Linked DNA regions of Homo sapiens: regions 1, 3, 4, 5, 6 and 7 are each linked to region 2. The links are contacts of gene promoters, found by promoter capture Hi-C in blood cells and fetal thymus (Javierre and others, 2016). All regions are on one chromosome and are shown on one strand. Each heading gives the region's core, a stretch centred on a gene start or on the middle of the fragment in contact. The rest is flanking DNA. Distances are from core to core; before and after follow the strand shown.

Region 1 (2,700 bases), core at 201-2,700, 290 kb after region 2:
GTTAAAAGCTGGGCATTCTAGATGAAGGGGACAATTTTTTTTTTTTTTTTTTTTTTTTTTTTTTTTTTTTTTGAGGCGGAGTTGCACTCTTGTTGCTCAGGCTGGAGTGCAATGGCACGATCTCAGCTCACCGCAACCTGCACCTCCCAGATTCAAGCAATTCTCTTGCCTCAGCCTCCAGATTAGCTGGGATTACAGGCGCCTGCCACTATGCCCTGCTAATTTTTGTATTTTTAGTAGAGACGGTGTTTCTCCATGTTGGTCAGGCTGGTCTCGACCTCCCGACCTCAGGTGATCTGCCCACCTCAGCCTCCCAAAGTGCTGGGATTACAGGTGTGAGCCACCGTGCCCAGCTTTTTTTTTTGTTTTTGAGACAGAGTATCACTGTCACCCAGGCTGGAGTGCAGTGGTGTGATCTCGGCTCACTGCAACCTCCACTTCCCAGGTTCAAGTGGTTCTCATGCCTCAGCCTCTGGAATAATTGGTATTACAGGCGTGCACCACCACGCCTGACTGATTTTTGTATTTTAGTAGAGATGGGGTTTCACCATGTTGGCCAGGCTGGTTTCGAACTCCTAACCTCAGGTGATCCACCCACCTCGGCCTCTGAAAGTGGATTACAGGATTACAGGTGTGAGCCACTGCACCTGGCCAAGGGGACAATTTCAACTATCTTTAACATAGTTGGTGACGAAGAAAACAGAATGCCTCTTAGTGGCCAGAATATATGTCATGACGTACATGCAATAAAGTCCACACACATTAGTCACAGAGGAGACTGACTCAAAGGCCACTTAAACACAGTGCAAAGCAGCAGCACCAGAACTCACACACCCTGGATGGGGGCCGTGTAAGAAGTACCTTGATTGATGGCCAGTATCTCTGAATGATAGTTTTTCCCATTCTGGTTTCTGACCATGTATTCCTGGATTGGCAAGCGTGCGGTCTTGACAGAGTATTCCCGGGCCTTTTGAAATGTCACCTTCTGTAAATATATAGTTAAATATTTTTCTTATAAAAATTATACATGAGTATATTCTCAATGTAATACAGCATTAAAAATAAGTAGCCTATTGTGGAATGGAAGAAACTGCAGATAATGAGTTAACTGTCTCAAGAGCTTATGTGACAATATCTTACTTTTTGGGGGGTCACTCATCCACAGTCCTCCACTCACTGCCACTTAGAACCAAGAGGGAAATAAGCAAAAGAGGCACATCTGCAGCCACAGTAGGCATCAAAAGGCCCAAGCAGTCTAATCAATCAGAGCACATTCTGAGCCCTAACTCAGTAAGACCCAATTCTGGATATCTGGAACTTCCAGCTCATTGCCAAAAGGCAGCATCAAATTAGAGGAAAAGGTAGACAAGATTCAAGACAGGTGCACCACTGCAACAAGTGGCATTAGGGTGTGAGAAGAGAGAGCCCAATTAAAAGAAAGGGGCCAGGTGAAGTGCCTCACACAACACTTTGAGGCCAAGGCCAGAGGACTGCTTGAGCCCAGGAGTTCAAGACCAGCCTGAGCAACATAGGGAGATCCTGTCTCTACAAATAACAAAAAAAAAATTAACAGGGTGTGCTGGTGTGTGCCTGTAGTCCCAGCTACTCTGGAGGCTGAAGTTGGATGATCACTTGAGCCTGGGACATATATCAAGGCTGCAATGAGCTGTGACTGCACCACTGCACTCCAGCCTGGGTGACAGAGGAGACCCTGTCTCAAAAATATAAAAGGGCGGGCTCTGAAAACTGCAAAAAGGAGTCACAAGAAGTCCATCAACTTGAGGCCATTTAGTGTCAGAGTACAGAAACTGATGTCCCTTTATAAGATGTTCCTTAGTCATGAAGTCCCTCAGACTGAGTCATGACTCAGTCAGATTACATTTGCTGCCTTGTAAGAAGCACAGGAAAGATTTTCTACCTAAGACTTCAGGATTAAAGAGAAAGGTTCAGATTACTGGGATAATTAACATGCCAAGGCTTGGAAGGGGTCTCAATAGTGTTAACTGTATCACTCTAACCACCCATTCATTGTCTGTTCTCTATGACTTCTCCAAGAGGCCATGTGGCCACTCAATGGACAGCTCTTGTGACAGGGAGTTCATGCATCCTGGGACAACCCACTCCAGTTTTGATAGTACCAGCTGATAGGAAATTCTTCTTGATCTTGAGCAAAATTCTGTTTTCTTTGAGACTTCCACTCATTCATCCTAGGTCTATTCCCCCAAGGCCAAACCATGCAAGTAAGATGGCCCTTCCAAAAGATGGCCATTCAGAAACTTGAAGGCAGTGATCATGCCCCTAGGAATCCTCTAGTCTCCAGATTGTAGCCTCAGTTCTGTCAACTCTTCTTTGAATTTCAAGTCCCTTCATCATTCAGGACAAGTTGAACTTGTTCTAAGCTAGTCCAGTATCATTTTGTTTACGGTCCCATAACTGACTGGCCATCATGAGTATGGTCTAACCAGGTGGAATAGTGTGAAGTGGACCTAGTACCTTTTCGGTGCTGACACCTGCCTCACATGAAACAAAATTTTAGATAGAACTTCCAAAAATGTTTTAAGCGATACAGGGACTTATTTGAAAGGATAAAACTCCTTTGCATATATGAGCTATATGATACGTTTGTTTTATAAAAAGTCTTATTCCTTTATAATCACTTTGAAGTACAGAATTCAAAATTAGGATATTTGGGTGTTGCCC
Region 2 (2,783 bases), core at 8-2,507:
AAAGAAGAGACTCTTGGAAAAGACATAATTATGGTGCCACCCGACTTAGGAACTGGCATCCAAGTCCACCTGTGTGACTTTCCTCTGGGCCTCAGTTTCTCCATCTGTAAAATGAGGTCCTGTATTTATTTTTTGAGACGGAATCTCCCTCTGTCGCCCAGGCTGGAGTGAAGTGGTGTGATCTCGGCTCACTGCAACCTCTGCCTCCCAGGTTCAAGCAATTCTCTGCCTCAGCCTTCCGAGTAGCTGCTGGGATTACAGGTACCCGCCACCACACCCGGCTAATTTTTGTATTTTTAGTAGAGACGGGGTTTCACCATCTTGGCCAGGCTGGTATTAAACTCCTGACCTCGTGATCCACCCGCCTCGGCCTCCCAAAGTGCTGGGATTACAGGCGTGAGACACCGCACCCGGCCGAGGTCCTGTATTAAATGGATCCTTGCCAGCTCCTACAACATAAGGCATTAAATGTTCCCACAACTTGCTCCCCGCCGGCTGGCAGCGAACAGGGCTAAAGCCTCGACTTCCTCAGAGGTGAAAAGGTAAGCAAACATTCCGACCTCCCCTAGCCTTGCTCTCGGATTGGTGCTGGGCCCGGCTCCCACCGCCTATCCCGACCACATCCGTCATCTGGACTGCTAATACACTCATTAGCATAAAGATTCCTCCGAAGACCTGGCGCACGGGGCTGAACCGGAGTCTGTCCCTTTAAGGAAGAGGGACAGCCACTCTGTCCCTAAGGGCACTAGGCACTGCATTTCCTCCACACGGGCCACGCTGTAAACTAGACAGGTTCCGTGTTAATCCACTCTCCCTCCTCAACCCCGACAGGGGGATCCCTGGAGTGAACAACGCGCGGGGTCCCGGGGGACTGCGGAAAGGTTTGGCCTCTGCGCGTAGCAGGCTCCGCCAGGCAACCTCTCGCCCGAGGCGGCGGCGAGCTGCAAGCTAGGTGGAGCCGGCTGCGCGGCGGGACCCCAGCGCCCTGGGGCAAGACCCTGGTGCTGGCGCCAGGGCAGCCGCGGGAGGTGGCGTGTGCAGGAGCGGAGAGGTGCGCCCACCCCGGCCCCGGGCGCGAGGGGGGCGGGGCTTGGGCCGCGGCCCGGGGCCAGGCTCGCGGGGATGGGCGGTGCTGGGTCTGCGGGAGCGGGCGGGGGGCGGGGCGCGCGAGCGGGCTCCGGGGGGGCGGGGCGGCGGCGCGGGGCGGGCTCTGGCGGCCTGAGTGTCACACACGCGGCGGCTCGGGAGGCGGCGGCAGTGGCAGCGACAGGCGCCGCCGGGACGGGCACGGGCGCGCGGGCTCCGGCGGGCGCCGGCTGCCTTCCTCCGTCGCTCGCTGTCTCTCCCGGCCGCATTCTCCTCCGCTGCGGGGCCGAGCTCTCCCCAGCGCTCGCAGGAAGGAAGAAGGGAGCCGAGGACGCCGAGAAGTTCCCGCGGCAGCCGCGGATCCCGGCCAAGGCGGAGGCTGCGGCTCCGACGGGGCAGGAGCGCGATCCACGGCGAGGGGCGTACGGCCAAAGGGTCCGCGGCGTGGAGCGCTCGGACCTTCCGCTCTCCCCCGGGCGTGGGCCGGGACCCCATGAGACGCGCCCACGAGGGGCGCGAGATTCCTAGCTTGGGCGGCGCTAGGCGGAGGGAGGTGTTGCAGCCGCCGGAGCCAGAGAGCTGCCGGCAGGAGGCGGCGGCGGCAAGAACTTGAACTTGGCGTCGGGAGCGGGCGCCCCGGACGCCCCCCGCCGGGGCCGGGGCGCCGAGGGACCTGCGCCGCAGCGCTGCCCCCCGAATGGCCGCGGCGGCGGACCGGGCTCCCGCGCCGCGGCCCTAGGCGGCCTCTCGCCATGGCCAAGTGGCTAAACAAGTACTTCAGCTTGGGCAACAGCAAGACCAAGAGCCCCCCGCAGCCGCCGCGGCCAGACTACCGCGAGCAGCGGCGCCGAGGCGAGCGGCCTTCGCAGCCCCCCCAGGCCGTGCCGCAGGCCTCCTCCGCCGCCTCGGCGTCCTGCGGTCCGGCCACCGCCTCCTGCTTCTCAGCCTCTTCGGGCTCGCTGCCCGACGACAGCGGCAGCACCAGCGACCTCATCCGCGCCTACCGCGCGCAGAAGGAGCGAGACTTCGAGGACCCCTACAACGGGCCTGGCTCGTCGCTGCGCAAACTGCGCGCCATGTGCCGCCTGGACTACTGCGGCGGCAGCGGGGAGCCAGGCGGGGTCCAGCGCGCCTTCTCGGCCTCGTCCGCGTCGGGCGCCGCGGGCTGTTGCTGCGCCTCCTCGGGCGCGGGGGCCGCCGCGTCCTCGTCCTCGTCCTCCGGCTCTCCGCATCTCTACCGCAGCAGCAGCGAGCGGCGGCCCGCCACGCCGGCCGAGGTGCGCTACATCTCCCCCAAGCACCGCCTCATCAAAGTGGAGAGCGCCGCGGGCGGTGGGGCCGGGGACCCCCTGGGGGGCGCCTGCGCGGGCGGCCGCACCTGGAGCCCGACGGCCTGCGGAGGCAAGAAACTGCTCAACAAGTGCGCCGCCTCAGCCGCGGAGGAGAGCGGGGCCGGCAAGAAGGACAAGGTAAGGTGCCCCTTGGCCTCTTCCCGAGGTTCCAGAGCCACGGTGCGCACGGGGAAACCGAGGCACCCGCCGCTCTGGTGTTGAGTCTCTACTTCAGCTTCGGCCTAGGACCCTGGGTCGGGGCTGGCGTGCTGCTTCCCGCTTCTGCCTCCTCCCGCGCCCTTTTCCTGGGACCGGCGGCCTCCTGACCCCACCTCTTTCGCCGCTGCTTCCAGAACGTCCCCTCTG
Region 3 (2,700 bases), core at 64-2,563, 260 kb before region 2:
TGGTATTCAAGGCCTTCATTATCTGACTGCAAACCTGCTTTCCCCTCCTCCCGCACCTCAGCCCCCACCACCTGTTCTCCTACCATGGAATGATTTACATTCTTCAAACACACTCCTTGGAACATTTGGTTCTAGTCTTCTGTCTCCTCTTCCATCTGGGGAACGCCTGTACCATCCTCTCCCACCACTCCTGTGAGCTTTATTTTGACTCATTTCTTCATTATCTAGGATACTTACTGAGTGATATGGTTTGGATTTGTGTCCCTGCCCAAATCTCATGTCGAATTGTAATCTCCAATGTTGGAGGAGGGGCCTGGTGGGAGGCGATTGGATCAAGGGGGTGGATTTCCCCCCTTATTGTTCTCCTGATAGTGAGTTAGTTCTCACAAGATCTGGTTGTTTAAAAGCGTGTAGCTCCCCCACCCTTCTCTCTCTTGCTTCTGTCCCAGCCATGTAAGACATGCTTGCTTCCTCTTTGCTTTCCACCATGATTGTAAGTTTCCTGAGGCCTCCCCAGCCATGCTTCCTGTACAGCCTGCAGAACTCTGAGCCAATTAAACCTCTTTTCTTTATAAATTACCCAGTCTCAGGTATTTCTTTATAGCAGTGTGAGAACAGACTAATATAGTGAAGTAGACAGAATGATAGCCCCCAAAAGATGTCTACATTTGAATCCTTGGACCCTGAGAATATGTTACATGGTAAAAGGGGTTTTGCAGATGTTACTAAGGTTAAGGATGTTAAGATAGTAAGAGTACCCTGGATTATCCAGGTGGGTTCAATCTAATTGCATAAATCACATCAAAGTAGAGAGGCTCCTGGCTGTGACCACAGAAAGAGACGTAATTATAGAAGCAAGTCAGAGAGGGGGCAGCATGAGAAGGACTTGCCCTGCCATTGCCACCGTTGGTGATGGAGGAAGGCGCCATGAGTGAAGGAGCAGACAGCCTTCACAAGCTAGTAAAGGCCAGGAAATAGACTCTCCCCTCGAGCCTCCAGAAAGTAACCAGCCCTGCTGACACCTTGACTTTAGCCTAGTGAGAGACCCATGTCAGACTTCTGACCTATAGAACTAGAAGGTGATACATCTGTGTTGTTTTAAGCCACTAAGTTTGTGGCGATTCGTTACAGCAACAATGGAAAATGAATATTCCAGTAATTTGTTTTTTTTTTTCAAGGCTATGAAGAGTTACACTTTCTGAGGCTCTGGATATCTGAGAATGTCTCCCTATTGCTGTCCCCTATGAACAATAAATAATTCAGCTGACTTTATAAAGGGTTATTGGGTCATACTCTTTTAAACTAAAAATCTGCAAATGTTGTTTCATTGTTGTGCTGGAAAGGGCTAACACAGCAGGCCTGAGGCTATATCCTCAGAAAAACCTGCTGTCAAGGTTGGCCCTTGGCTGGTGTCTGGGAACTTGGATTTCGGGAGGGTTCCATCATTCTCCGAATGGATCGGAGCAGCTCACTGTGCTTAAGCTGTACAAACAATATGCTTTATGCCGAACACCTGTTTTTCTTCTGGGATTCTGAAATTTTCGTGTGTGCCAGCCAGAGGGTGCCTTAGCGACCAGACCCCAGTAGTACTTCAGGCACTGAATCTCTAGTGAGCATCCTGGTAGACAGCATTTCACGCATGTTGCCATTATTCGTTTGCTGTTGGAATTAAGGGTGCCCTGTGCAACTCCCCTGGGAGAGGTCTCTTGGGAGCTTGTGTCTGGTTTCCCCTTGACTTCGCCCCATGCACCTTTTTTCCTTTTGTTGATTTTGATTTGTATCTTTTCACGGTAATAAATGTACTCACAGCTATGTAATGCTGTGAGCAGTAGTACTCACAGCTATGTAATAGATGTACTACTACATGCTGGGCCCTGAGAGTTCTCCTAGCAAGCCATCAAACCTGGAGGTTGTGTTGGAGACTCCTGACACAGATGTGTCATTGTAGCATTTAGTGCCATGGGGGAAAACTTTGATGCCCGTAACTCCACTCACCCCTTCATAGAAATCCTTTTCTTTTCTTTTTTCCTTATCTGGATATTTATAATCATTTTTCTTTATCCTTGAAATTAAAATAAAATCACTAAAGTCAGTCTAGATGCGCGTCTCTTTTCATTACTTTTCCCTGGTAGTCAATGATCATTTTTAATCTAAACATGCCAGTCTTTAGCTAGGGGAGGTTTTTATCTAGTGTAGCAGGTATTACTGTCAAAATTAAACTTCTTTTTTCTCCTCTAATTTAAAAGAGAAGTGGCACAGAGTCACCTTCATCACTCTTGGAATGCAGGGAAATTCTTTGTGCAAATAGCCTCTTCCCAAGACCACTGAGACAATTACAATGTATCATTGGGTGGGTGGGCACCAGGCCTTTGTGTCTGAGGGCAGGGAGGTCACCAGGAATTGGGTACCTGCTGAAACCCCTCCTGACCCTGGATTACAACCCCTGGTTGTTGGTGCTGGTGAACACAGAAAGGACTGGAGTGGAAGGGCATGTGTGTCCAGTGCTAGGCACTAGCCAGAACAGAGGACGCAGTCCCTTCCACGCCTTGGGGTGCTCACCAAGGCGGTCAGTCCCCGGCCCCAGCTATTGCAGCTTGACTCACTGCCCGCGGTGTTGCACAGTTATTGCGTGGGTCAAGGACATGGCTGTTGCTGTATTCCAAAGATGACAATTGATAATTCCCGCTGGCCGCCGTGTGA
Region 4 (2,700 bases), core at 119-2,618, 350 kb before region 2:
GCCTGGAGTGGGCAGTGCTGAGTTTAGGGTGAGTGAGAAGGTGGCCAGTGAGTCCCAAGGAGCCTGGGTTTCGGCCTGGAGTTCAGGCTTCTGGGAAATAATTCTGGCCTGAGCCCAGAGACCAAGTCCAGACTTTAGTGCCTAAGTCAGTGTAATGACTTAGCTTCAAGAAAGAAGCCTGGGGTGGGGTGAGACCTTTCCAAGCCTTAAGAAGTATCTAGTAGTCTTTCCTCTCAAGTAGTTCAGGTAGATGTACCCAAGTCCAGGAGACGCAATGGGTTGTTGGAGATGGGGCAGGAAGCCTCCAGTCCTGGGAAATGTAAAACCAGTGTGTGGCCAGTTGAGCACAGGAAAGTCACCATTGGCTGTTCCTAGCTGAAGCTCCCCATGGAGGACAGAGCTGGCTGGGGGTGCATCTGTGCTGCCGCTGGCTCCCTGAGTGGCCCTGGACGGGTCCCTTCCCCTCTCTGGCCATATCAGCCCCAGTGGAGTCATTGTTGAGGTCCCTTTCACTCGGAACAGTTGGTTTCCGCCCTGTGGCACTTAAACAGTCCTGTCTCTTTCCTTTTGCTAGTTCCTATCACTCGTTTTTATAACTGCTTTCCTCAGCCGTTAATTCACAGGCAATTCTCTTTGTCTCCAGACAGGTAACACTTTTAACTCCACATGCAGGAGACAGAAGAAATGCTGACCAGGTCCTCAGACTATAAATGCTGCTGATGATCTCAGATAATTTCTCCCCAGAGTGGCATTCTCTTCCTAAGAGAAAGGCACCTTAAAGACATTCAGACCAAATCTGCTGTTATACAGAGAAAGAGACTGAGACACAGCAAGGTCAGAGCCCTTGTCCAGGGTGACCAGTAAAGGATGACCAGCTCCCTGGTCCCAACACCCTGTCCAGTGCTCTTTTGGCACAGGACTTAATAGTATTAAGTCAGGCAGATGGTGGTTACCATGGTTACCAGAGTGAGGCCAGATGGCAGATGGAAACTCCATACCCCTAATTCACTGAAAATTACCAAATGACAAGTAAATGTGACAGCCCCTTCACTCTGATCTATGGGATCTGAGGCCCACCCCAGGCACAGACCCAGGGAATAAAGATATTCGTGGGGCCACATGGAAGCAACTCAGAACTGGTTTTCATGATCTCATTACTGACAGGCGTCAGGCCTCCCCGGGGTTCAGCCCTTCTTCCGCACCAGCCTTTGTGTCATCCACCACAGAACCGGGCACTGTTTGCCTGTCACTCTCTGTCCTGAAGTGCTAGTGTGGCCTCTGCCCTTGTGTCCAGATAAAGCATGAAGGTTTGGACAGGGGATGTTTCCTAGCCCAGGCAGCAGCTCATTCTGTGCTGCCCTAAAGCCATCTTTTATTCACAAGACACAGCGGGAGCGTTTTTTAACAATGCCTCTGGGGATCCCGGTTGAAGGAAAACAGACTGTGAGTCAGAGCAGGGCTGTTCTGCTTCAATATTCATGATAAAATCACCCCTCCTGACTCCTTGGGTACCCAAGCACCTAGATTTCATGGAATGAGGCCTCGGGAAGTATTTATTATGTTGTTCACAGTGTGTGAAGGGCCCTTATACATGCCTCTGAGGAGCCTGGGGAAGCAGTTTTCAGGCTTAAATTCTGCCCTTTCCTCCTATGCCCTGAAATGCCCCAAACTGCCACATAATGAGAGTGATCCTTTGATCCGCACACATGTATGGAAGACTCACATATGAATAATTCTTACTGTTGGAAATTGCTTTTGCATCCTTTTTTTTTTTTTTTTTTTTTGAGACAGGGTCTCACTGTATCTCCCAGGTGGAATACAATGGCTTGATCACAGCCCACTGTGATCCTGGGCTCAAGGAATCCTCCTGCCTCAGCCTCCCAAGTAGCTGGGACTATAGGCACATACCATCATGCCCAGCTGATTTTTAGAATTTTTTGTAGAGACAGGATCTTACTGTGTTTCCCAGGCTGTTCTTGAACTCCTGGCCTCAAGCACTCCTCCCACCTCAGCCTCCCAAAGTGCTGAAATTACAGACATGAGATACCATCCCTGGGCTGCACCCATCTTTTTACATGATTTTTACAAGTGTCCTGGGGAGGTCTCCTTCCCATTTGATAGAAGGGAAAGCTGAGGCACATGGAAGGAAATTCCCTGGAGCCACCTGGCTGGTCCCAGCTGTGAAAGGGCTCCAGTGTAGGTTTGCCTGGCTGTTTTGTTTTGTTTTGTTTTGAGACAGAGTCTCACTCTGTCACCCAGGCTGGAGTGCAGTGGTGTGATCTTGGCTCACTGCAAGCTCCACCTCCTGGGTTCACGCCATTCTCCTGCCTCAGCCTCCAGAGTAGCTGGGACTACAGGCGCCCACCACCACGCCTGGCTAATTTTGTTTTTTGTACTTTTAGTAGAGACGGGGTTTCACTGTGTTAGTCAGGATGGTCTTGATCTCCTACCTCATGATCTGCCCGCCTCGGCCTCCCAAAGTGCTGGGATTACAGGCGTGCGCCACCATGCCTGGCCTGCCTCGCTATTTTCAGATGGGCGCTGCACAGCTAGCCGCTAGCAACCTGATCAGTAAGGTGCTGTGCACCCGCCAGCCTTGAATCTTGGGGGTTTCTCAATCTGGGTCCACCTTCCTGTTTTTCCCAAGGTTTGTCACTTGTCCCTCTATTTAGCACTGGGCTATAGCTCCTGAGAGAAGCC
Region 5 (2,700 bases), core at 7-2,506, 280 kb before region 2:
AGGGATTGCTATGGTTTGGATCTGTGTCCCCACCAAATCTCATGTTGAATTTTCATACCTAATGTTGGAGGTGAGCCTGGTGGGAGGTGATTGGGTCATTAAGTTGGATTTTTTGTGATGGCTTTTCTGTCCTTCAGTCCCAAAGGTCATCTCAGAGCAGCAGCAGCAGCAGCAGCAGCAGCAGCAGCAGCAGCAGCAGCAGACAAGCTTTGAGGGGCCCAAAAAGCAGGCCTAGCACCGTCCCCTTGGTGCTGTTCTCGCGATAGTGAGTGAGTTCTCCTGAGATATCTGTTCATTTAAAAGCGTGTGGCACCTCTACCCTGTCTCTTGCTGGCTTCTCCTCCCACTGTGTGACGTGCCTGCTCCCCCTGTGCCTTCTGCCATGATTGTAAGTTTCCTGAGGCCTTCCCTGAAGCTGAGCAGATGCCAGCATCCTGCATCCTGTAAAGCCTGAAGAACTGTGAGCCAATGAAACCTCTTTTCTTTATAAAATACCCTGTCTCATGTATTTCTTTATAGCAATGCAAGAATGGCCTAATACAGGGATATTTGGCTAGATGGGCTGGTATGAGTAGACATGTGATTAATATCATTTAACCATCCTAGGTGACATCATTCCAGCTGCCCAGCTCTACTCCAGCCTTTGCTTGCACACCTCCAGCCCCTGAAAGCTCACTACCTCAGGGGCCAGCCCATGTCACTGACCACAAGAAGGCTCTTCCCTGAGCTGAGCTGCCACCTGCCCCCCAAAAGAGTTCCATCTCATGTGCTAGGCCTGCTTTCTGGGACCTCTCAAAGCTTGTCTGCTGCTGCTGCTGCTGCTCTGAGATGACCTTTGGGACTGAGAGACAGAGATCTCATGCCTCCCGGGGGTCTCCCTCTGTGCTGGACAGCGCACCCCTCTCAATGTCTCATCCTTTGCAAGGAGGCACCATTTGCGTCATACAGTCACATGTGTATAGTTTCCATCATGCTATAAATAGCCTTTTGTGCTCCTTTTTTAAATTAAAAATACATTGTAAACATTGTTCCACATGCTATGCCTAATCCTCAAAACACAACTACCCTTTTAAGCACTTCAGGGTATTCTGTGTGGAACCTCATGGATGGCTTCCCCATCTTCCACTGACGCATGCATACCTCGCTTTTCAAATGTTTTCACGGCATCTTTGTTGATTTGGCGTTTTCCTCCTGTTGAATAATCTCCTCAGGAGAAATTCACATTAGTGAGATGCCTGGATCATTTATCTTGATTTGACTTTTGGTACATATTATTAGATCGCCTTGCAAAATGTCTGCTACAGGATAAGTTTTACCTCCCCAGCGGAGTGTATCACTTCAGCTAGAAACTCATTTTAATATACATATTTTTTTATTTTGTGGGAATAAAGCCATCTCGAGGTTGTTTTAATTTGATATCTTGCACCGAGGATTAAAGAAAAGTAAAGCAAAAGAGGGGGGAAAGACATTTTTCTTTGTGTTGGATTGTTATTTGTCTTTCTCCGGTGTGAATTGTCTGTTTGAACCCTTTGCTCATTTACATATTGGGGTATTGATGTTTTGCTTACAAATTCCAGTGAGCTCTTGAATTAAACCTTAGTCTGTCCTTAGACTAAGGTTTCTCCCTAGAACTTTCACTTTTATTTTAATCATGTTGCTCTTCCTGTTTTCTGCCTGGGGGAGCCCACCATTTAGGACTAGAAGACAAGCTTGGGCACTGACTGCCCAGCTCCTACAACTGGCACCACCGAGGTCCCAAAGAAGAATATTAATAAAAGCACTGTACTGGATGCTCTGGGTATATCTCTTCTACTCCTCAAAGTAACCCTGACAGGACATTGTGCCTATGTTACAGATGTGGAAACAGGCTCAGAGGGGTGGCGCGTGTGCTGCAGGTCTCACAGCAGGCACACCAGAGGTGGTGCAGGTAAGCATTGTCTCTGGGTTTGTTATCCTTTTCCACAATACCAGCAGCCTGCGGAGGAGTAAGAAAACATCTGCTGCCAACATCTCCAGGTTTGTGACTTCAAACTCCCCTGGCAGAGGAGGGAACTACCATATTTGGGGACAATTTACATCAAATTACCATGCACCAGCCAACAGCTGCCGCCTGGAGCGGGAGGCTGGCTGCACAGAGCCATCACATTTATACACATGATAATGAAAACCCGCACGCGGGCCTCCACGTTCTCCCATAAATATGGTCATTATGATCTTGTTGGCATTGCTTGTTGAATTCCATCTTGCAAATTGTTTCCTGGTTGCCTAGGGGAGCTGACTTGGGCTCTTCTCAGTCTCCTTTCCTCTAGACATGACAGTGTTTGGGGTTTGCCCACTGTCCTCAGACCATCCTCTGGCACAATTCTCAGGACAGCCTCCACCCCATGCTATGAGCAGTCAGCAAGTTCCCACTGTGTGCACCATGCGTGGGACTGATTGCAGAGAGCCGCAGAGCTGAGAGGGCTCTCAGGGCAGCTGACAGGCCCACTCCTGCATTTTACAGACTGACAGGATACAGGACAGGAGTGGGGTCAAAGTCCAAGATTAAAAAGGACCCTTTGCATACCCTCCCTGTGCTGAACCCTGGAAGGGTAGCACACAAACCTCCCCAGGGCACCCAGGGCTTAGGCAGGCCATGGCTCAAAGTCCGCACTGTAAATAATAGAAATCTTTCTCAGCTAGCTGGAGGACAGGGAGTGG
Region 6 (2,700 bases), core at 93-2,592, 480 kb after region 2:
AAAATGTCTTTTTTTTTTTTTTTTTTTTTTTTTTTAACACGGAGTCTTGCTCTGTCAACTAGGCTAGAGTGCAGTGGCATGATCTTGGCTCACTGCAACCTCCACCTCCCAGTTCAAGCGATTTTCCTGCCTTAGCCTCCCAAGTAGCTGGGATTACAGGCACGTGCCACCACGCCTGGCTAATTTTTGTATTTTTAGTAGAGACAGGGTTTTGCCATGTTGGCCAGGCTGGTCTCGAACTCCTGACCTCAGGTAATCTGCCCACCTCAGCCTCCCAAAGTGCTGGGATTATAGGCATGAGCCACTGTGCCTGGCCTTAAAAATGTCTTTATTCTATAGTTTGATGAATATAGGGTTCTAGATTAGCAATCATTTTCCTTCAGAATTTTAAAGCAAAGCCTCTAGCTTTCAGTGTTGCTGCTGAGAAATCTGAAATCATTCTGATTCCTGATTTTTTTGTGGGACTAAGTATTTCTTCCTGAGAAACAAGGATCTTTGTTCCTAGTATGCTTATATTCCATGATGACATCATTTAGTGTGTGTTTATTTTAATACACTGTGGTGGGCACTTGGTGAACCTATTTAAACTTGAAACTTGTATCTTTATTTCTCAAATTTTGTAGGTTTTAAAATAATTTTATTATTTTTTATGGGTATGTAAGTGTATATATTTATGGGGTGCATGAGATATTTTGATACAGGCATACAGTACCTAATAATCACATCAGGATAACGGGATTATCTGTCACCTCATTTATAATTTATTTATGTTACAAACATTCCAGTTATACTTTTAGTTATTTTTAGATGTACAGTAAATTATTATTGACTGTAATCACCCATTATGCTATCAAATACTAGAACTTATTCATTACATCTAACTATATTTTTGTACCCATTAGCCATCCCTGCATTCCTTCCCTAACCTTTCCTAGCCTCTGGTAACCATCATTCTACTCTGTCTCCATGAGTTCAGTCGTATTAATTTGTAGCATCCACCAATGAATGCTTATAGGTTTTTATTGATTTCCTCCCCTTCTTTTTCCTTCTGCTCTCTTTTTAGAACAATAGTACTTTTAATGTTTTCTTTTTCCTTTATATTCTATTTTATCTGTAATTGCTTTTCTCTTTTTTTGTTTCATGTTAGATGCTTTCCTTGGTTGTCTGCTCACACTTAAAAATTGGGAACTAACATGGATTAAAGGCCTGGAGTGGAGCTTGTTGATGTTGAACTTTGCCAAAGGGCCATCTATTGGGCCATTTTTGTTGAGAAAACTTTTTGCGTCTGTATCTTTAGTTATTTCCCATTGAGCTGGTCATTGCTCAGAGAACAAAGACTCTTCCAATCTCCCAAGTGCTGAATGAGGCCCTGCCAACGTTCTGGGATTCAAAGGAATAGGGCTGTGGTGAGGCTCAGGACAGACAGGTGTGTGTGTGTGTGTTTCAATATCCAGTATGTATTTGCTCACTGCGTCTCTGTTTTGAGTATAGTACCTCTGCCCAAACTGCCTGGCATCCCATAATCTAGAGACCTTCTATTTTACCCTTTTCAGAAAATAAACTTTTTATTTTTTGGAGACAGAGTTTTGCTCCAGGCTGGAGTGCAGTGGACGATCTTGGCTCGCTGCAACCTCTGCCTCCCTGACTCAAACGGTTCTTGTGCCTTAGCCACCTGAGTAGCTGGGATTACAGGCGCACACCACCATGCCTGTCTAATTTTTGTAGTTTTAGTAGAGATGATGTTTCATCATGTTGGCCAGGCTGGTCTCGAACTGCTGGCCTCAGGTGATCCGCCCATCTCAGCTTCCCAAAGTGCTGAGATTACAGGTGTGAGCCACTGCACCTGGCCTAAAAAAAAAAACTATCATTTTGAGAGGGTACTGTGTAATGGAGGCTGTTTTGCTGCATAGAGTTGCAGAGAGCATCTGATTACTTAAACCTTGCACCAATTCTTATTTTAATGTCTACCCTTCTACCCCTTATTGCTAGAGGCACCTGAAGCCACTAGTTTCTGAGCCTTTTAGGGATTCCATGATATAAATTAGGTTGTGAGTTTTTGTTGTTGTTTGGGGGTTCTTGTGGGTTTTTTTCTTTTTCTACCGCTGGCTCAGAATTCAGTTTTTCAGAGTCTACTACATTATTTACTGTTGATCTACCTATTTTCCAGCTTCTAACGTTTTATTCCTGTTTCCTCTTTTCTTCCATCCTTTTAGGTTTATATCTTAAAACAAAAACCTTTACCGTCATTTAATGGGATTTTTGGGAGGGAGTGGAGGTAGGTATACGTGCTTCATCTACCATCTTAACCTGGAAAGCATGTATTTTAATTCTGTGGTTTTGTATTTATTTCTTAAATTAAGAAGGTGTAGTGTATGGCACTGTGGTCATATGAATACTGGCTCTAAAGACAGGCAGACTTGATTTTGAATGTTGGCTCCAATACTTACGAGATGGGTGATTTTCAGCAAGTGAGCTCCGAATCTCATTTTCTTTAACTATAAAATTAGGATAATAGAAACATCTCTCTACTTCAAAGTGTCGTAAGGATTAAGTGAAAAAATGCAAGTAGAGCAGCTGGCACAATTGCTTGACATTTGGTAAATGTTATTAATGGCTAGTCTTTGGTATAAGGCATTTAGAAGTGATTTGTGCTGGCATTCACAGCATAGACAGATCTCATTCCTATTTCCAGATGCTCTG
Region 7 (2,700 bases), core at 51-2,550, 300 kb before region 2:
CCCTTCCTGCTCTTGAGCTCAGTTTCCTCATCTGTACACTGACTCAGTGGATCCTTCAAAGCGACCTTGACTCCCAGGCAGCCACACTTTCCCCAACATTTCTACCTGCTCCAGGCAGGTGAGACTCAGCTGGAGGCCAGAAGGAAAGCAATGGATTAGAATGATTCACACCAGGGAGTGAATGGCTGACCTCCCTACCACTCCCCTCCTTCCTTATCTTAGCCTTAAAATAAAAAACAAACACACACAAACAAAAACACCAGGGCAGTATCCTGGTGGCATCTTATGTGGACTGAAGAAGAGATGGGAACTAATGAGGAAGACAGGTGAGTGTGGGAACAGAAACCTCCACAGCTTGAGACCAAACCTCAGGCTCTGGAATCAGACAGAGCTGAGCTCAAATCAGTTCTGTCACTGACCAGAATTGTGGCCTTGGCAAGTTCTTGCCCTCTCTGAGTCTCAGTTTCCACATCTGTAAAAGAGAATAACAACCCCTGCCTCTGTGACTTGTAATGACTTTTGAACAAGATAACACACATGCAGTGCCCAGCACCGAGCTGTGCTCCTGATGGGTGCAAGGAGGTGTGGAGTCTCCTTCCTTCTTTCCTTGTATCCCACCACAGGATGTAGGCTTCCTCCCACCTCTACCTCCGGATCTGGGTGTATGGGCCATGAGTAGGGTGGTCTGACCCTGCCATCCAGGATGGGAGTGTGGCAGGTGACCTCCCTCCCAGAAGCCCCTCACCCTACATTCTCTGGCTGGGTGCAGATTTTGGAAGCTGAGGGTTGGCTGTGGGACAGGCCTGGCTCCAGACTATGGGGTGCCAGCCGGGGTGGCAGCAGGAAGCAGCTTGCCTCGAGGCAAGTTTGGCTCAGCCCACTGCTTTGTTTAGCTTCATACACTCAACTCCTCGCTTCTATTTGAAAACCTGAGTCTGATGGGATGGCCTGGCAGCTGGTGAGAAATGTGGGGAGCTGCATCTGGGCAGTGGGAGGCCTGACTGCATGTATGTGACAGCCTGGCCCTCTCTCTGCCTGGAATGGCATTCATTCATTCACTCATTCAGCCATCAAATATCTACTAGGTGCCTGCCATCTCCCAGGCTCTGTGATAAATGCTGGGATCCAGCTGCTGGGCAAGACTGACATGGCCCCTGCTCTCCAGGATCTGGGTGTGTTGGCTGGGAAAGGGCCATTACTCAAAGGAAGCACAAGCTGGTGTAAAGTGGTCAGTGCTCTCAGGGGTGGGCATATACTATCATTAAGGTGTGTAATGGGCATTAACCAGGTGGAAGGGAGAGTGACTTTGTTCCGGCCAATCCAGTCATCCAACAATGACTTATATCTATTCCGTGCTGGACCCTGTACTAAGCCCTTGATCGAATTGTCACTCTACTCACCAGAAGCTCCTTGAGGGCTGTGCTGAGGAGTAGTTATTCTCCCCTGGACCTTCCCTGCAAGACCCCAGCTTGATTGTGCAGAAGGGACTCAGATACTGGAACTGGAATTAAAAGCCATGCAGAAAAGCAGAGAATCCTTCTTGGCTGAATAGGGATTTCATGGAGGATCCCAGGTTATCACCGGCATTACTTGGAATGCTGGGGAAATGAGAGACTCAGGATTGAGTCCTGATTCTGCTACTCACAGGCTGTGTGACCTCAGGCAAGCCCTTTCCCTCTCTTGTCTTTAATTTCCCCTCTTATACAAGAAAGGGGTTGAAGCAGGTCAACTCCAGAGTCCAGGTCACAGAGCTCAGGACAAGGTCTAGTACAGAACAGGGGCCTGGGAATGCCTATGTCATTTGTCACAAGGGGCCAGATGCAGCCAGGTTTGGGGATGGGACAAGCAGCACTAATTGGTGTCATTAACACTTTCATCCTACCTGTTCCTAAATTGGGATTATTTTGTAATCTGATGATTACATGTTTATAGTAATTAGCATGTAATTTTATAGTAAATAGTGTGTTTATAGTAATTATCAGATCATTGGGTCTGACAGGCAAATTTCTTTTTAAAGTTTGATGTTAAATATATTTTAAAGTGATCATAATTTATTGATTTTTTTAAAAAGAACAATGATAATATGGCGATAGGTTCTGGGACACATGAGATAGGATTCTAGATCAAAAAGGAAGCAGAGATTTGCTTCCAAAGAATAGAATGTAGAAAAGGAAATAGCAGCTTCACCATGGAGAAACCTGGCAGACTCCACTTTACCCAAGTGATCCAGGTGAGCCTCCCCAGTGATGTCATGTGGCTATCATGTATCCATTGGTATGATGTAGCCAGAGGGCACTTCATCTCTGTTGAGTGTTTTCCATAAACCTTAACCTGTCTAAGCATGAGAAGAACGTTAAACAAACCCAGATTGGGGACATTCTACAAGATCCCCAGTCAGTCCTCCTTAGAACTGTCAAAGTCATGGAAAACAAGGAAAGACTGAGAAACTATCCCAGACCAGAGGGGACCATGGAGACTCATGACAACTAAATACAATATATGCTGGATGGGATACCAGTGCAAAAAGAGGACATTAATGGGAAGACTGGTGAAATCTAAGTAAAGTCTAGACTTTACTTATTAGTAATGTACCAATATCAAATGTCTTTGTTTTGATGTGTATAGCATGATAATGTACAATGTTAACAATGGAGGAAACTGGATAAGGGGTACATGGAAATTCTCGGTACTATATATGTA

The links. The method cuts DNA at HindIII sites, captures the fragments that hold promoters and counts their contacts. A CHiCAGO score of 5 or more calls a contact.
Region 1: a fragment that was not itself captured here is called in contact with the fragment with the promoter of SHB in region 2 in 1 of 17 cell types (neutrophils); the score reaches 5.4 in neutrophils.
Region 3: a fragment that was not itself captured here is called in contact with the fragment with the promoter of SHB in region 2 in 2 of 17 cell types (megakaryocytes and M1 macrophages); the score reaches 5.4 in megakaryocytes.
Region 4: a contact is called between a fragment that was not itself captured here and the fragment with the promoter of SHB in region 2, in 1 of 17 cell types (megakaryocytes). The highest score is 5.6, in megakaryocytes.
Region 5: a fragment that was not itself captured here is called in contact with the fragment with the promoter of SHB in region 2 in 4 of 17 cell types (megakaryocytes, endothelial precursors, M1 macrophages and 1 more); the score reaches 6.5 in megakaryocytes.
Region 6: a fragment that was not itself captured here is called in contact with the fragment with the promoter of SHB in region 2 in 1 of 17 cell types (erythroblasts); the score reaches 5.5 in erythroblasts.
Region 7: a fragment that was not itself captured here is called in contact with the fragment with the promoter of SHB in region 2 in 5 of 17 cell types (megakaryocytes, erythroblasts, fetal thymus and 2 more); the score reaches 8.3 in megakaryocytes.

The regions. Positions count from the first base shown.
Region 1 is chr9:37,774,567-37,777,266 of GRCh38, reverse strand. TRMT10B (tRNA methyltransferase 10B) reads right to left here. Exons shown (of 9, transcript NM_144964.4): 8 at 862-985. Among named protein-coding and RNA genes, the nearest start is that of EXOSC3, 9.1 kb to the left of the region's middle. The HindIII fragment of the contact is 5,813 bases long and covers 1-2,700 here.
Region 2 is chr9:38,067,701-38,070,483 of GRCh38, reverse strand. SHB (SH2 domain containing adaptor protein B) reads left to right here and starts at 1,257. Exons shown (of 6, transcript NM_003028.3): 1 at 1,257-2,555. The coding sequence starts at 1,839. RefSeq lists silencers at 847-1,656, 2,077-2,126 and an enhancer at 2,017-2,783. The HindIII fragment of the contact is 5,108 bases long and covers 1-2,783 here.
Region 3 is chr9:38,330,129-38,332,828 of GRCh38, reverse strand. All of the region lies in intron 1 of LOC107987065 (a long non-coding RNA gene), which reads right to left. Among named protein-coding and RNA genes, the nearest start is that of ALDH1B1, 61 kb to the left of the region's middle. The HindIII fragment of the contact is 4,837 bases long and covers 1-2,700 here.
Region 4 is chr9:38,420,369-38,423,068 of GRCh38, reverse strand. The region is part of intron 1 of IGFBPL1 (insulin like growth factor binding protein like 1); the gene reads left to right. Among named protein-coding and RNA genes, the nearest start is that of IGFBPL1, 2.7 kb to the left of the region's middle. The HindIII fragment of the contact is 3,072 bases long and covers 1-2,700 here.
Region 5 is chr9:38,352,370-38,355,069 of GRCh38, reverse strand. The region is part of intron 1 of LOC107987065 (a long non-coding RNA gene); the gene reads right to left. LOC105376040 (a long non-coding RNA gene) reads left to right here. Exons shown (of 4, transcript XR_929605.1): 4 at 138-177. Among named protein-coding and RNA genes, the nearest start is that of ALDH1B1, 39 kb to the left of the region's middle. The HindIII fragment of the contact is 911 bases long and covers 801-1,711 here.
Region 6 is chr9:37,584,764-37,587,463 of GRCh38, reverse strand. No RefSeq gene overlaps it. Among named protein-coding and RNA genes, the nearest start is that of TOMM5, 6.5 kb to the left of the region's middle. The HindIII fragment of the contact is 4,406 bases long and covers 1-2,700 here.
Region 7 is chr9:38,368,505-38,371,204 of GRCh38, reverse strand. The region is part of intron 1 of LOC107987065 (a long non-coding RNA gene); the gene reads right to left. The region is part of intron 2 of LOC105376040 (a long non-coding RNA gene); the gene reads left to right. Among named protein-coding and RNA genes, the nearest start is that of ALDH1B1, 23 kb to the left of the region's middle. The HindIII fragment of the contact is 6,205 bases long and covers 1-2,700 here.